5 separate regions of the Homo sapiens genome follow, and regions 2, 3, 4 and 5 are each linked to region 1. Evidence: promoter capture Hi-C in 16 types of primary human blood cells and fetal thymus (Javierre and others, 2016). All regions are on one chromosome and are shown on one strand. The core of a region is centred on a gene start or on the middle of the fragment in contact, and the rest is flanking DNA. Distances in the headings are between cores, read along the strand shown. Region 1 holds the start of NREP-AS1 (NREP antisense RNA 1). Region 2 overlaps STARD4 (StAR related lipid transfer domain containing 4). Region 3 overlaps STARD4-AS1 (STARD4 antisense RNA 1). Region 4 overlaps STARD4-AS1 (STARD4 antisense RNA 1). Region 5 overlaps STARD4-AS1 (STARD4 antisense RNA 1).

Region 1 (2,859 bases), core at 223-2,722:
CGTAAGGATGGTTGCTTCCACTTTATTCCCTAAATCAAGCTTGGCATGCTTTTAGTTTTTAAAGTAAATCTGTAGTTTGACTTGAATACCCTCATCCATCATTAGGTAACTTTTAAAAGCTGATGTTATTTCAGGGTGGAATTCTCTTCTACTTCTCTTATCCTCTCATACCCTTAGTTTTTTGTAGTAATAGCCTCATCCCTATAATCAAATCCAGAGACGGGGAGAAGGTAGAGCTGGGAATTCATTTTTCTCCCTACAAATCTTAATTATTCCTCAAAATATTTGTGAAGTAGGAAAGCATGTTTTCAGCACCCATTCCTCACTATCATCCTCTTACCCAATTGTCTGATTAGTTCCTCCTTTTATCTTTTGTTACTGTCTCATCTGGGCATTTAGCCTCCTCATTTTACTCTTCAGTCACTTAGGACCCTGAACTATGAACTCACATCCCTGTTAATCTGGGAAGATGTCTATCCTTTGAATCTTTTCAACTTCCTTTTCTCACATCAAAATATAGTGATGCTGGGTTCCATTTATTCAAGGTCATTCTTTTTCTTCTGCTAGGAAACAGCTAGATTATCTTGCAACCTAGTCTGCTGTAATGGATTAATGAAAGGCAATGTGCTAGTTCCTTATCTCCTGAAAAACACCTGAAAAATTTTAGAAGGATATTTTATAAGACCGCTTTTAAAATGAAGTAGTGCAAAATAGCAGAAAGAGTAAAAGAATTTAGAATTTGAAATTAGAGTGACATGGGATCCATGACTCCTATTCATTTCCTAAGAAATCTTCTACAAATTACTTAACCTCTCTGAACCTTCTATCCTGCCTTTACTGTAAAAAATGGATACTAACACTTACCTTCAACTTTTGTTGTGCTGTAAAATGAAAAATTGTAAAAGTACTCAAGATATTGGCTGCTGTACAGTAGGTGTCTTACACATTGTAGCTAATAAGTAAACAATATTGTAAGCCAAATAAGTGACTCAAAATCAATTACTGGTCAATGCTAATAATCTTAATGAACAAATATTTCTTAAACACTTTGTGTAGGAAGAAAAAAATACAAGTGGTACCTATGAAATAATATTCTACTTTACCTAGGCACGATGCCAGTTCTTCTCCAGCTATTCATCAAACAACCAACTATTCCTTCATTTATTGATTAACTTATTCATGTACCTATTAAGTGCAGAAGGCTGGACTGGGTAATATGAAGAATACAAAGATGTATACATAATCCTGTATTGACTTACTGTTGAATGTGACAGAATATTCAGGTATTTTGGATAGGTTAGAAAGATATCTTGATCCTGTCTTCAGTTATTAGCCTAATAAGAATGGAAACAGCTTGCAAAAGTAAGACGCAAGTAGGGTAGCAGCAGGCTCATCTGGGGAATTACTGGTCTGAAGTTTGGGCACAAATTATTGGAGCCAAAGAAGAGAGAAATCTATATCCTTTAGGAAAGTTGAAGTAAAGATCATTTTCAGAGATACAGATAGAATAGATTATGACTCAAGCTTCAGTGGCAAGGTGTGTATACAGTCACAATATATAGAAAACAGACTAGTAGTCAAGGGCACCAGGGGACAGGGCAGGCAAGGTGCAGGGTGGATGAAGTGAGGAGGGTCAAGAAGTAATTCAGATCTGTCTGAATTATAGCAGGGCAGACCCTAGCTCATTTTGCCAGGGTGGGTTTTAGTCACTTACGGAAGCCACACCATTCTGGATGAGGGAATTGGGGAGAAGAGCATGATGAAAAAAGGGTGCAAGGAAAATACTGGAGAATGTTACCATACGAATGTGTGCACAAGATGAAAGAAAAATTAAACTGGCCAACAAAAGTTCAAGGAATGCTCTAATTTAAATATTAGATATTCTAGCATAAAATTTGCAATTCAAGAGAAGCTGGTTCTCCTAAATTTACATCTTTATAAGGTAGACAGACAGGAATTTATATTTTGTCTTTGGCACTTATCAATCGTGTACCATTAGACAAATTATTTAGCCTCCCCACAACTTAGTTATCCCATCTGTAAAATGGGGTGAAGACTAGTACTTGCTTATAGGATGGTGGTGGGCACTACCTGAAATGCTGTGTGTATATGGCTCAGCACAGTGCTAGGTACATAGTAGGTAGGCAATGAGTATAAATTATTTTCGGTTTGGATTCTATGTCTATGCAGAGGTCTCCTCAAGCTTTTGCAACTTGTCATATAATTGGTGTCTATTTTTATGTCTTTTAGATGGTCAAAAAAATAGACCCTCTCACCAAAGTCAAAAAGAGGTCAGATTGAGCCTGAATAATAGTAGCACACTTATGAGTCATTTAATTTCTTTGACATCTCCTTTTCTCATCTAGTTGTGAATTATTTATGACATCTGTGCTCTTGGGAAGAAGTCCAAGCATATAACATATCTCCAGCTCACTCCTGGAGGGTCTTTCCAAGGCCCAGGGTTTCTGCCACTTAGTATGTGCTTACTCAATATTGTCTTGATTAATGGCATTGGAAGTAGAGATAATAGCAGTGCAGAATTAATGGGCTAGATACTTTGTTATTGAACACAATTGTGTAGGGTTGAACTAACAAATAGGTAATGCTTCTGCAAAGTGTGTAAGTAAAAAATATAAAATAAGTAAATAGATTATATATTCATCAGTCTATTTAGAAAAACTTACTGAGTAGCTACTATGTGTCAGACACTGTTCTATGCACTGGTAATATCCAGAACTCTGGATGCAGATATGATATCAAGAACATTGGGTACAGGGGTGATATCCAGATTGCTGGGTGCCGGGGTGATATCCAGAACACTGGGTGCAGGGGTGATATCCAGATTGCTGGGTGCAGAGG
Region 2 (2,859 bases), core at 95-2,594, 400 kb after region 1:
TTTCTCACCAAATCAGTGTCATTGTTTTCCCGAATTTACACTTGAGAAAGATTACCTTAGATTTTTAGGTTCAGCAGCCAGGACAAAACTTGACAAATATTTGGTGGGCCCAGGTTTTTTATATGAAGTCTTTTCCAGCCTGTGATCAGCTTCCACAGTTTTACAAGAGAGAGCTTTAGGCTCTGAAGTCAGACGCCCTGGGTTGGAATTCTGGCTCCATCACTTATGAACTGTGTGATCTTGGACAAGTGACTCAACCTTCCTGTTGCTATTTTCCCTTTCTGTAAAACAGGGAAAATGTATAGACATTAAGCTACTATTCTCACTTATGGAAGACCTCAAGATATCTAAAGTATGCCCATTTACACCAATCCTAGAGCTTCTGAATAACTAAAATTCCTTTACCATAATGAAACACATTTTCTCAAGGAGGACTATTACTGTTGTGAGGATTAAATAAAATAAATGCAATGTAAAGCAGCCAGAAGGACTGACCATGTAGTAAGTGATCAATAAATGTTATTGTTATTTTTTAAAATCAAGTACAGAGCATTAGGTTTTTTTTTTAATCAAGTATTAGAGCATTAGGGGTTTGAACAGTAAGTTGGCTCACTATTCATATTGTAGAAATATACTTCCATGTTGCATTTCTTTAAATAGTGAGCTCCTGCCAGAGCCAGTCTCAAAAAATGAGAAGCTGCTGTACTTGTCTGAGTTAGAAAACTTAACAGTTCAACATTGATTGGAAATCAAGCATATGCTGAAATTTTTATGTTAGTTAGAAAATATAATTTAATTTACAAAGCTTTGGTTTGTATGACATTGGGGAAAGTCCATGGCATGTTAAACTGAAGCTGTTGACGGAAGTGAAAACCATATTAATCAAGTAATGCAAGGTTAGACCGTTCTGATACCTGCATTTCTTTAACAAGTGAATTCTGACCTAGTCGTACTACAAAAGTCCAAACAGATTTTTATGGCATTCACTTTACATTACAGGTTAAATGTTTTATTATGTTCCATATTTAAAATAGAACCTATGCCATCTCACTGTGACAGATATTTGAGAATAATTGGAGTTGGATTGGTCAAGACTATGGTGCTGATAGATGGCCTCAAGAAAAGTAACTTGAGACAGCTGCCCTCCCTATGATGGCAGCCACTATCACCACTAGTGATAGCTTCAAAAGCATGGGCATAGAAAACATGAACAAAAAGATTAAAGGAAAAACATGGAGGTGGACATTACTCAGCATTTGGCCATGGGACTGACAAGAGTATAAAATCTTTTATATGAACCTATTATATTCTGATAAGGTTAAGTGGTGCCTGTTCTCTCTGACGTGTAAATGTTAGAGTTGGATAATTTCCTGATATAAGGTCAAGATAAGGGAATAAAAGACTGAATTAGTAAAAGGAAGTTCAGAATGGGTTCAGAATGGCATTTAAAACATTTACCTGACATTCTCCACAGTTGGAGATTGCAGGAGGGCAAATTAGGTGTTTTCCTCTCAATTAATGTCAGTACCCTGTTATATTAGGAGAGAGAGCCAAGACCTTGATAACCCATCTCCCCCAACCCTCTTGGTTCTAGAATATATTAATATTTTGAGAAATGCTCAATTATGCCTGTTTACACAGAGGTAGCAGTTTTGATGGCAATGATTATTTCATTATGGACTTAATCTTGATGAAAATAATCCATGCAAGACTTAACTGTTTGGTTAAATACATTGCTGGACATATTTAATCAGAGAGAGCTTTCTGATTTTGTACTTCTTTCTCTTCCTTTCCTACCTCCCACTGCACCACTCTTAAAAAGGCTATTAATAGAATTTTTTAATGTTTTAGTTTTTGTTGTTGTTATTTCTGTTAAAGCTTAAGGGTGGAATAAGTCAATTTGAGAGTAAAATCTGAATTCCATCTGTTTCTGTAGTTCTAGGACCTGGTATATAATAGATGCTTGATAAATATTTAATAGTAGTCCTTCTTGAGAAATGGTGTTTCATTATGGTAAAGGAAGTTTTAGTTATTCAGAAGCTCTAGGATTGGCGTAAATGGGCATACTTTAGATATCTTGAGGTCTTCCATAAGTGAGAATGGTAGCTTATTGTCTATACATTTTTCCATTTTTTATTCACTGTGTTCCTACTGAGTGCTAGACGTAAGGAGAATTAATATTGAACAAGCCAGATTTCCTACCCCCCAAAGATTTTACAGTTAAACGGGAGAAGATAACAAGTGAATAATTACAGTACAGAGTTGCTGTCAGAAAATATTGGAGGGGGAACTAACCCAGGTTCAGGGGAATCCAGGAAAGATAAGTGGAAATTAGGTAATGAAAATATGCCACATTATAAAAGGGCCTGTAAGCTATAGTAAGGAGCTTGAACTTTATACTGATCAGTATGAATTACTAAGTCAAGTACCTTAAAGTTGCAGATTCTCATCTCTTCTAGGTAGCTAGCTTTCTAGGTAACTTTCCGTGCACTGGATTTGCCCAGTGATAATGTTTGCTTATGATAATAATAACTTTCTGTTTCACCTTTGATTTCTATCAAAAAGTTTTGCATAAATACTCTTATCTGCCAACCACAGGAACCTAGCAGGTGACCTTTGGGTTTAAAGAATATGTTTAATCATAGTGATCCCTGTAATAGATAAATTAAATCTCTTTTACAAGCCTTCTGCAAGAACTTCTGCTTGTTTGTGGCATACTCTTGAATAAAGTTATTGAACTGGCTATCAAGTTGACAGCCTCTTGAATGGAAATTAGGTATATTCTTGACTGAGAGACTTTTTGAATGAGCTCATCAACTTTTCATCCGTGGATTGGATCTATACTTATTATATATTTTG
Region 3 (2,859 bases), core at 129-2,628, 380 kb after region 1:
GAAGTGTGGGTGAGTCAGCAGAAGGATGTGATGAGGCGGAGAATGGGGGCACTCGCGTGGGGACAGAGGAAAGGCAGGAAGGTCAGATTGGGCCATGTTGTTCATGTACGATCTTCATGTCAGATGAAGAAGTTAGATCTTTAGCTCAACGGTTATATGGAACTATTGAGAGTTTAAAAATGATATTTATAGCCTTTATAATTTTTCAAAGCAAGTGTGCCCACTGTGAAATATTTGGAAACCAAGGAAGACACAAAGCTAAAAGACTATCTGTAACTCTCTCTTTGTTAATATTTGGAATATATCTTTCAGTCTTCATACCACACACATAAATTTTCCCCCAAAACAATATTTACTGTATTTTATATAATAATTATAGAGTATTTTAATGTTTCGGTTTTGTCATTTATTATAGTACATGTCTATTATAAATAAATAACAAAATAGAAGCAAAAACACTAAAAGCAAAACTAAAATTATAAAAATTCTAGGCTCTTACTATTATTTTTATTGTATATGTGTATGTGTATATATGCATCCTTTTGAAAAAATATAGATCCCGTTAAAAAATAGAATAATAATTTACCTACTGTTTAAGACCCTATACTCTTCTCTTAATATATCAGGAAAATCTCGATATGTTGACATGTGCATTTTTATAGCAAAATTTAATACCTGCATCCTATACAAAATAATTTATACGATCTCATATTTTTAAATTGCCTTTATGTCTTTGTTGAAAATCAGTTAATTATGTAAGTATAGGTCTATTGCTGGGCTATTTCATTGACCTATTTGTCTATCTTGATTGAATATCATAATTTTGATCAATGTAACTTTATACCAAGATGTGAAGACAGGAAGTAAAAGTTAGATAACTTAGTTCTTCTTTTTAAAAGTTGTTTTGGCTATTCTATGCCCTTTGCATTTCCACATGAATTTTAGAGTTAGCTGTCAACATCTACAGATGAGCCTGCTGAGATTTTAATTGGGATTTCATTATATCTGTAGATCAAATAGGGAGAATTGATATTTTAGTCATGTTTATCCAAACACATGCCATTTATCTCTATTTACTTAGACTTTAATTTCTCTCATTATGTTTGCTAGTTTGCAATATACAGGCCATGTTCATTTTTTTCATATTTATCCCTAATATGCATATTTAATGGCATGTTTTTATGCCAGTATAAATGGTATTATGTTAATTTTAATTATGTATGTATGTATGTACCTAGTATATAGAAACAGACTTGATTTTTTATATTGATCTTGCATCTCCCAACTTTGTTAAACTCACTTATTAGATGTAATACATATATATAAATTCCATAGGGTTTTCTAGGTAGATGATCGTTTCATCTGTGGATAAAGAAAATTTTATTTTCTTATGTCCAATCTGGATATCTCTTATTTCTTTTTCTTGACTGGCTGGACTGGCTAAAGCCTCCAGGACAATGTTGAATAGAAGGGAGAGAGTAGACATCCTTGCCTGTTTCCTCATATTAGGGGAAAACATTTCATCTTTCATCATTAATAAGACGCTAACAGTACAGTTTCGTAGATGCCCTTGATCAGGTTGGGGTTGTTCCTTTTATTCCTATTTTGCTGACTGTTTTTATTGGGATTAGATTTTGGGCATTTGTCAAATGCTTTTTCGTCATCTCTTTTTTTTTTTTCCCCAGTCTGTCAACATGGTGAATTACATTGATTGTTTTTCAAATGTTAAATTAACCTTGCATCCCTGAGATAAACCCGACTTGGTCATGATGTATTATCCTTTTAATAAATTGTTTATTATTTTATTTGTTATAATTTGGTAAGAATTGTTGTCTCTCCGTTCGTGAGGAATAACGTTCTGTAGTTTTCTTATAATATCTTTTTCTGGCTTTAATGTAATAATGCTGGCCTCGTGGAATGAGTTGGGAAGACTTCAATTTTCTGGAAGAGTTTGGGTTGCAAGGCTATTATTTCGTCCTTAAATGTTTCATAGAATTCACCAGTGAAGACATCTGAAAATGGAATTTTCGTGGAAAGTTTTAAAGCTCTAAATTTAATTTCATTCATTGATATAGTGCTCTTCAGGTTATCTATTTCTTCATGAATGAGCTTAGTAGAATAGTTTGTATCTTTTAAGGAACTTGAAATTCTTTTTTCTTAAGGTGGAAGCTGATGTCATTGACTTGAGACTTCTTCTTTTTTAATTTAGATATTTAGAGCAAAAATTTCCTTATGATTACTGCCTTAGTCGTAAACAATAGATTTTCATATGTCTTTTTTATTTTCATTCAGTTTTTAAAAATCTTAATTTTTTGTTTATTTCTTTTTTGACTCATGGGTTATTTAGCAGTGTGTAATTTTCTTTCTAAATATTTGAGTTTTGTCCAGATTACTTTACTGATTTCTAATTTAATTCTATTGTGGTCAGATAATATACTTTGAATGTCTTTTGTCAGGCTTCTTGATTGGAAATGGAAATTTAATCACGTATTTTTGGACTTGCAGTTTCTAATTTTTATGCTACTAAAAACAATTCTTAGATGAAGATGAACTTGGGTTCTTTTTACCCTTTCTTTTTTATTTTCTTAAAAGTCTCAGAAACAAAAGTTTTGAATCAAAGAGTATATAGTTCCTTCTCTAGAATTTATATATACTGTTACATGCCTTGTTTCATGTTTATATTCAATAATTTGCAAATATTTTCTTCAGATCAATATTTTTTCTATAACATATTCTTAACGACTGTATATAATTTTACTTTATTGATACCCCAAATTATATTAACAATACTCTATTGTTGGACATCTAAGCTCTTTCTAACTTGAGGCAAGTTTCCATAATGCTTTTAATAAACTACAC
Region 4 (2,859 bases), core at 209-2,708, 350 kb after region 1:
GTGATCCAACTAAGTGCTGTCTATAAGAAACTCACTTTAGATCCAAAGATACAAATAAAGTGAAAGGATGGAAAATGATATTCTATGGAAATAGTAACAAAAAGAGAGCAGAAGTGGCTACACTAATATCAGACAAAATACACTTTCAATCAAAAAAGATTACAAAACACTGAGAAGGAAATTATATATTCACAAAAATATTAATGCAGTGAGAAGATATAATAATAAAAATTATTTATGCACCTAATAACTACCAAAGTATAGGAAGCAAAAACTGACATAATTGAAGGCAGAAACAGACTGTTCTACAATAATAACTGGAGACTTTATTATGCCACTCTAAATAATGACTAGAACAACCAGATAGAAGACGAGTAAGGAAACAGCAGACTTAACATAATAATAGATATATACAGAATATTTTACCCAACAAAAACAGCACACGTTTCTCCAATGCACATGGGACATTTTAGAGGATACACTGTATGTTTTACCACAGATTAAGTTTCATTAGGCTTTAAAAGGCAAGTATCATACAAAGCATCTTCTCTAACCACAATAGGTTAAAGTTAGAAATCAATAACACCAGTACAATTTTTTTAAGTTACAAATTTGTGGAAATTAAATGATGCAGTGTTGAAAAGCTAATGATCAAAGAAGAAAACAAATGGGAAATTGTGAAATTCTTAGAGAAAACTAAAAATAAAAACAGAACATACCAAAACTTACAGAATATAGTGCACAGTGAAGGTCATGCTAAAGGGGAAATTTATAGCTACAAATGTTTACATTAAAAGAACAAGAAAGATCTTAAATCAATAACCTAACCTTACAATAAGTAATAAACTAAAGAAGAATAAACTAAACCCAAAGCCAGCAGAAGGAAGAAAATAATTAAAAATTAAATCAGAGATAAGAGAATAGAAAAGCAACAGAAAAAATCAATGAAACCAAAAGTTGATTATTTGAACAGATCAATGAAATTGACAAACTTTAAGCTAGATTGACTAAGAGAGAAAGAGATGACTCAGTTTACTAAAAGCAGAAATAACATTGGGGACATTATTCCTGATTCTACAAAAGTAAAAAAGCTTAAAAGGAAGTACTATGAACAACTTTACACCGACAAATTAGATAACCTAGATGAAATGAACAAATTTCTAGGAACATAAAACCTACCAAGACCAAGTCATGAAGAAACAGAAAATCTAAATAGACCTATAGCTATTAAGGAGATTGAGTCAGTAACCAAAAATCTCCTGACAAACAAAATCACCAGATATTATGACTTCATGGGTGAATTCTACCAAACATTTAAATAACAGATACCACTACTTCTCTAATTTTTCCAAAAAATTGAAGAAGAGAGAACACTTCCTAGTTTGTTCTATGAATTCAGCATTACCCTGATAATGAAGACAAAGACACTAAGAGAAAAGAAAACTGAAGATCAATATTTCTTATGAACAAAAGGGATAAAGTTCTCCAACGCAAAAATTCTCAACATAATACTAGCAAACCACAATTAGCAGTATATTTAAAGAATTATACACCATGACCAAGCGGGATTTATTTCTAAAATGCAGGGATAGTTCAACATAGAAAAAAATGTTCAACATAATACATCATATTAACAGAATAAAATAAAAAATGAATGATCATTTCAATTGGTGCAGAAAAAAGCAGTCGAGGAAATTCAACATATTTTCATGGCAGAAATATGCAACAAACTGAAAATAGAATAAGACTACCTCAACATAATAAAATTCAGTAAAGAAAAACCCACAGCAAACATCATACTCAATGGTGAAAGACTGAAAGCTTTTCCTCTAAGATCAGGAACAAAATAAGGATGTTCAGTTTCACCATTTCTGTTTGATATAGCACTGGAAAACCCAGCAAAAGCAATTAGGCCAGAAAAAAAATAAAAATTATCCAAATGGGAAGGGAAGAAGTAAAATTTATCTCTGTTCACAGTGGATATCATGTTACTATATGTAGATAATGCTAAGGGTTCCACAAACAATTGTTAGAGCTAATACATGAGTTCAGCAAAGGAGCAGGATACAAATCAACACACAAAAATTAATTGGATTTTTTATACACTAACAATGAACTGAAAAAGAAACCATGAAAACAATCTCATTTACAACAAGACTAAAAAGAGTAAAATACTTACGAATTAACCAAAGAGCTGAAAGACTTAAACAATAAAATTACAAAATGTTGCTATAAGAAATTAAAGAAGACATAAATAAATGTAAACACATTCCATGTCCACTGATTGGAAGACTTAATATTGTTGAGATTTTTATACCACACAAAGTGATCTTCAGTGCAATCCCTATTAAATCCCAATAATACTTTTTGCAGAAATAGAATAATCTATCTTAAAATTCATATGGAGTATCAAGGGACCTTGAATAGCTATAACAGTCTCTAAAAAGAAGAACAAAGCTGGATGACTCACCCTTCCTAATTTTAAAACTTACTGCAAAGATAGAGTAATAAAAACAGTGCGGAACTGGCATAAAGAAAAACATATAGACCAATAAAATAGAATAGAAGGTCCAGAAAAACCCTCACATATACGGTCAAATGATTTTTGAAAGGGTGCCAAGGCCATTCAATGCAGAAAGGACAGTCTTTCGACAAAGGGAGCTGGGAAATTGGATATCCACATGCAAGAGAAAAGCTGGACCCTTACCTGACACTAGCTACAAATTTAACTCAAAGTAGAAAGGTGGTTACCAGAGGCTGAAAGCGAGGGGAGGAAATAGAAAACGGGGAGATGTTGATCAAAGGGTACAAAGTTTCAGTTAGACTGGAGGAATAAGTTTTAATGATTCATAATTGTAC
Region 5 (2,859 bases), core at 256-2,755, 310 kb after region 1:
CTCTACTAAAAACACACACACACAAAATTAGCAGGGCGTGGTGGTGGGCGCCTGTAGTCCCAGCTACTCAGGAGGCTGAGGCAGGAGAATGGCATGAACCCAGGAGGTGGAGCTTGCAGTCAGCCTAGATAGCACCATTGCACTCCAGCCTGGGTGACAGAGCGAGACTTTGCCTCAAAAAAAAAAAAAAAAAAAAAAAAAAAATAGGCCTAGTCACTGCTATTTTGGAGCTTACATTTCTAGTGGAGAGGGCACAAAATAAACAAGTATGAAGTAAATCAGATGCACTTGAATTGGTGAATGCTATGGAGAGGAAGAATGCCTAGGAAGCAGAATAGAGAATGTTGGGGAGGGGATAATATTTTATATTGGGTGGTGAAGGAAGGCCCTTCTGGTAAGGTGATATTTCAGCAGAGACTTTAAGGAAACGGATGAGTGAGCATGTGAGAGAGAGTCATGGAAAGATCTACAAAAAGAGCAGCCTATATAGAGAGAACTGTGCAGAACTGTGCCAAAGTCCTGAGGCAGATGCAGACATGGTGTGTTCAAGGAGCAGCAAGGAGGCCAGTGTGCCTGCAGCAGAGTGCATGTGAGAGAGGAGAGCATGGTAGGCAATGAGGATGAGTGGGAGGGAAGAAGACAGGGGCCACATGGTGTGGGGACTGTAGGCCATTGTAAGGACTTTAGCTTTTGTACTATATGGGATTCAGAGCCACTGCAGGTTTTGAATACAAGTATAATTAGAATTTTAAAAGGATTCCTCTGACTACTTTATTGAGACTGAAGGCACAATGGTGAAATGAAGGAGACCAGTTAGGAATCCATTATAATAACCCTGGAGGAGTGATGATGGTGACTTGACTAGGACTTAGTACCAAAGGTACTGAGAAGTAGTTGTTGAATTCTGGAATTATTTTAAAGGTAGAGCAGATAGGATTTTCTGATAAGTTCAATGTGGGGTGTGAAAGAAGGCAGACACCATAGTTTTTCTCCCATGCAGTTGGAAGACATGAGTATTTATTCATTGAGATGCAGAACACCAGGAAAAGAGAAAGTTGGGGAAAGGTGTGAGAGTCAGAAGTTTTGTTTCGAACATGTGAAGTTCATTTTGAAGCATTGGAAATTCTTTTTTTAGATATTTGCATGGAAATGTCAAGCAGGCACTTGAGTATGTGAGCACGGTGTCCTGAGGAAAAACTGGGTCTGGATATAGCACACATTTGAGAGTTATCAATGTACGGATGGTATTGATGGGACTGGATGAGATCTCCAAAGGAGTAAGCTTGATGTAGGGTATGTAATAGCACTGGGGATTTTCTACTGTCTACAGAGAACAATAAGCCTTTACTCCCCAGGCTGCTTCCCGAGGCTGTCTGTAACCCAGCCTGACCCTGCCTGTTCAAAAACCTATCCTCTCCTCTGTGAGCCCTAGACACCAGCTATTACTTTCATCAACTCTTCTTTGAGCCCTAGGCATAACTTGTTCATTTTTTTATTCAAATGCTACCCATCTTTCAAGGTCCAGCTCAAATTCCACCTTTATTTATCCATTCACTTCCCAAACATTTTTTTTTTGCAAATCTATGATGTAAGTGCCAAAGAGACAGCAATAACAAAGTCAATCACTTTCCAGAAAGCCTAATCTCCTGCCTAGTTGTCTTTTCCCCGATCTTCTGTAGCTAACAAACCCAGAAATTATAATTTTCACTGACTATGGAACAAGCTTCATGGTAGACACTGGAACAAGATTGGGAAAAGGAGATAGTCACAGTCTGTTAGAGAAGCAGGCAAGTAAGCAGGCAACTGAAAAAAAAAATATTTCTTGCTATGAAAGGAGAATGCACTTGCAGTATGCAAAATAATGTCATGTTGCCCAAAGATGTCCACGTGTTAATGCCCAGAACCTGTGACTAGGTTAGTTTACATGACAAAAAGGACATTCAGGCTGCAGGTGACATTAAGGTTGCTATTCAGCTGCCTTAAAATAGGGAGAGTATCCTAGGTTTTTCAGGTGGGTTCAATGTAATCACAAAGGTACTTAAGAGTGGAAAAGGGAGGCAAAAGAGAAGAGTCAAAGAAAGATACGTGATTATGGAAGGTATGTGGTTGGCTTCGAAGATGGAAGAAAGGATCCATAAAGCAAAAACTGTAGATGACCTGTAGAATCTGGAAAAGGTAAGGAATTGGACTCTTCCCTAAGGCCTCCAGAAAAGAATGCAGCCCTGTTGGCATCTTGATATAGCATCATTAGACCCATCAAACTTCTGAACTATTGAACTGTACATAATAAGTTTTATTGTGATCTCCCTTGTAGCAACATGGATGGAGCTAGAGGCCATTAAACTAAGCAAACTAATCCATGAACAGAAAAACAAATACCACATGTTCTCACTTTTAAGTGGGAGCTAAACGAGAACACATGGACACAAAGCGGAGGAAAATAGACACTGGTGAATGCTTGAGGGTGGAGGGTGGGAGTAGGGAGACAATAAAAAACAAACTACCCGTTGGGTACTATGCTTATTACCTGGGTGATAAAATGATCTGTACCCAAACCCCCAAAGACATGCAGTTTACCTATATAACAAACCTGCACATGTATCCCTGAACCTAAAATAAAACTTAAAAAAAAGAAAAAAATTGTATTGTGTTAAACCACTAAGATTTACAGCAGCAATAAAAACTAATACTATTGCCAATACTAAAAACTAATACTAATGTTATATAATACATATAGCACTCTATGGTTATTTAACTTTTTCAGAGGTGTGTGTTACATCCCCAGTATTGGCCAATTTTCAAAGATTCAGGACAATGAAAACACCTTTAAAAATTCCCTCTGTCAATAATCATATTAGG

Evidence for each region. Contacts are between HindIII fragments. The CHiCAGO score rates a contact against its expected background, and 5 or more counts as called.
Region 2: a contact is called between a fragment that was not itself captured here and the fragment with the promoter of NREP-AS1 in region 1, in 1 of 17 cell types (monocytes). The highest score is 5.4, in monocytes.
Region 3: a contact is called between a fragment that was not itself captured here and the fragment with the promoter of NREP-AS1 in region 1, in 2 of 17 cell types (M1 macrophages and M2 macrophages). The highest score is 6.8, in M1 macrophages.
Region 4: a contact is called between a fragment that was not itself captured here and the fragment with the promoter of NREP-AS1 in region 1, in 4 of 17 cell types (M0 macrophages, erythroblasts, M1 macrophages and 1 more). The highest score is 7.4, in M0 macrophages.
Region 5: a fragment that was not itself captured here is called in contact with the fragment with the promoter of NREP-AS1 in region 1 in 3 of 17 cell types (M1 macrophages, erythroblasts and M2 macrophages); the score reaches 6.6 in M1 macrophages.

What each region holds. Positions count from the first base shown.
Region 1 is chr5:111,911,121-111,913,979 of GRCh38, reverse strand. NREP-AS1 (NREP antisense RNA 1) reads right to left here and starts at 1,472. Exons shown (of 4, transcript NR_046678.1): 1 at 1,260-1,472. It also overlaps a transcript of NREP not described here. The HindIII fragment of the contact is 1,485 bases long and covers 42-1,526 here.
Region 2 is chr5:111,508,998-111,511,856 of GRCh38, reverse strand. The region is part of intron 1 of STARD4 (StAR related lipid transfer domain containing 4); the gene reads left to right. Among named protein-coding and RNA genes, the nearest start is that of STARD4-AS1, 1.8 kb to the left of the region's middle. RefSeq lists an enhancer at 2,554-2,673. The HindIII fragment of the contact is 1,073 bases long and covers 808-1,880 here.
Region 3 is chr5:111,527,564-111,530,422 of GRCh38, reverse strand. All of the region lies in intron 1 of STARD4-AS1 (STARD4 antisense RNA 1), which reads right to left. Among named protein-coding and RNA genes, the nearest start is that of STARD4, 16 kb to the right of the region's middle. RefSeq lists an enhancer at 1-379. The HindIII fragment of the contact is 5,472 bases long and covers 1-2,859 here.
Region 4 is chr5:111,556,315-111,559,173 of GRCh38, reverse strand. The region is part of intron 1 of STARD4-AS1 (STARD4 antisense RNA 1); the gene reads right to left. Among named protein-coding and RNA genes, the nearest start is that of STARD4, 45 kb to the right of the region's middle. The HindIII fragment of the contact is 730 bases long and covers 1,094-1,823 here.
Region 5 is chr5:111,599,732-111,602,590 of GRCh38, reverse strand. The region is part of intron 1 of STARD4-AS1 (STARD4 antisense RNA 1); the gene reads right to left. Among named protein-coding and RNA genes, the nearest start is that of STARD4, 89 kb to the right of the region's middle. The HindIII fragment of the contact is 441 bases long and covers 1,285-1,725 here.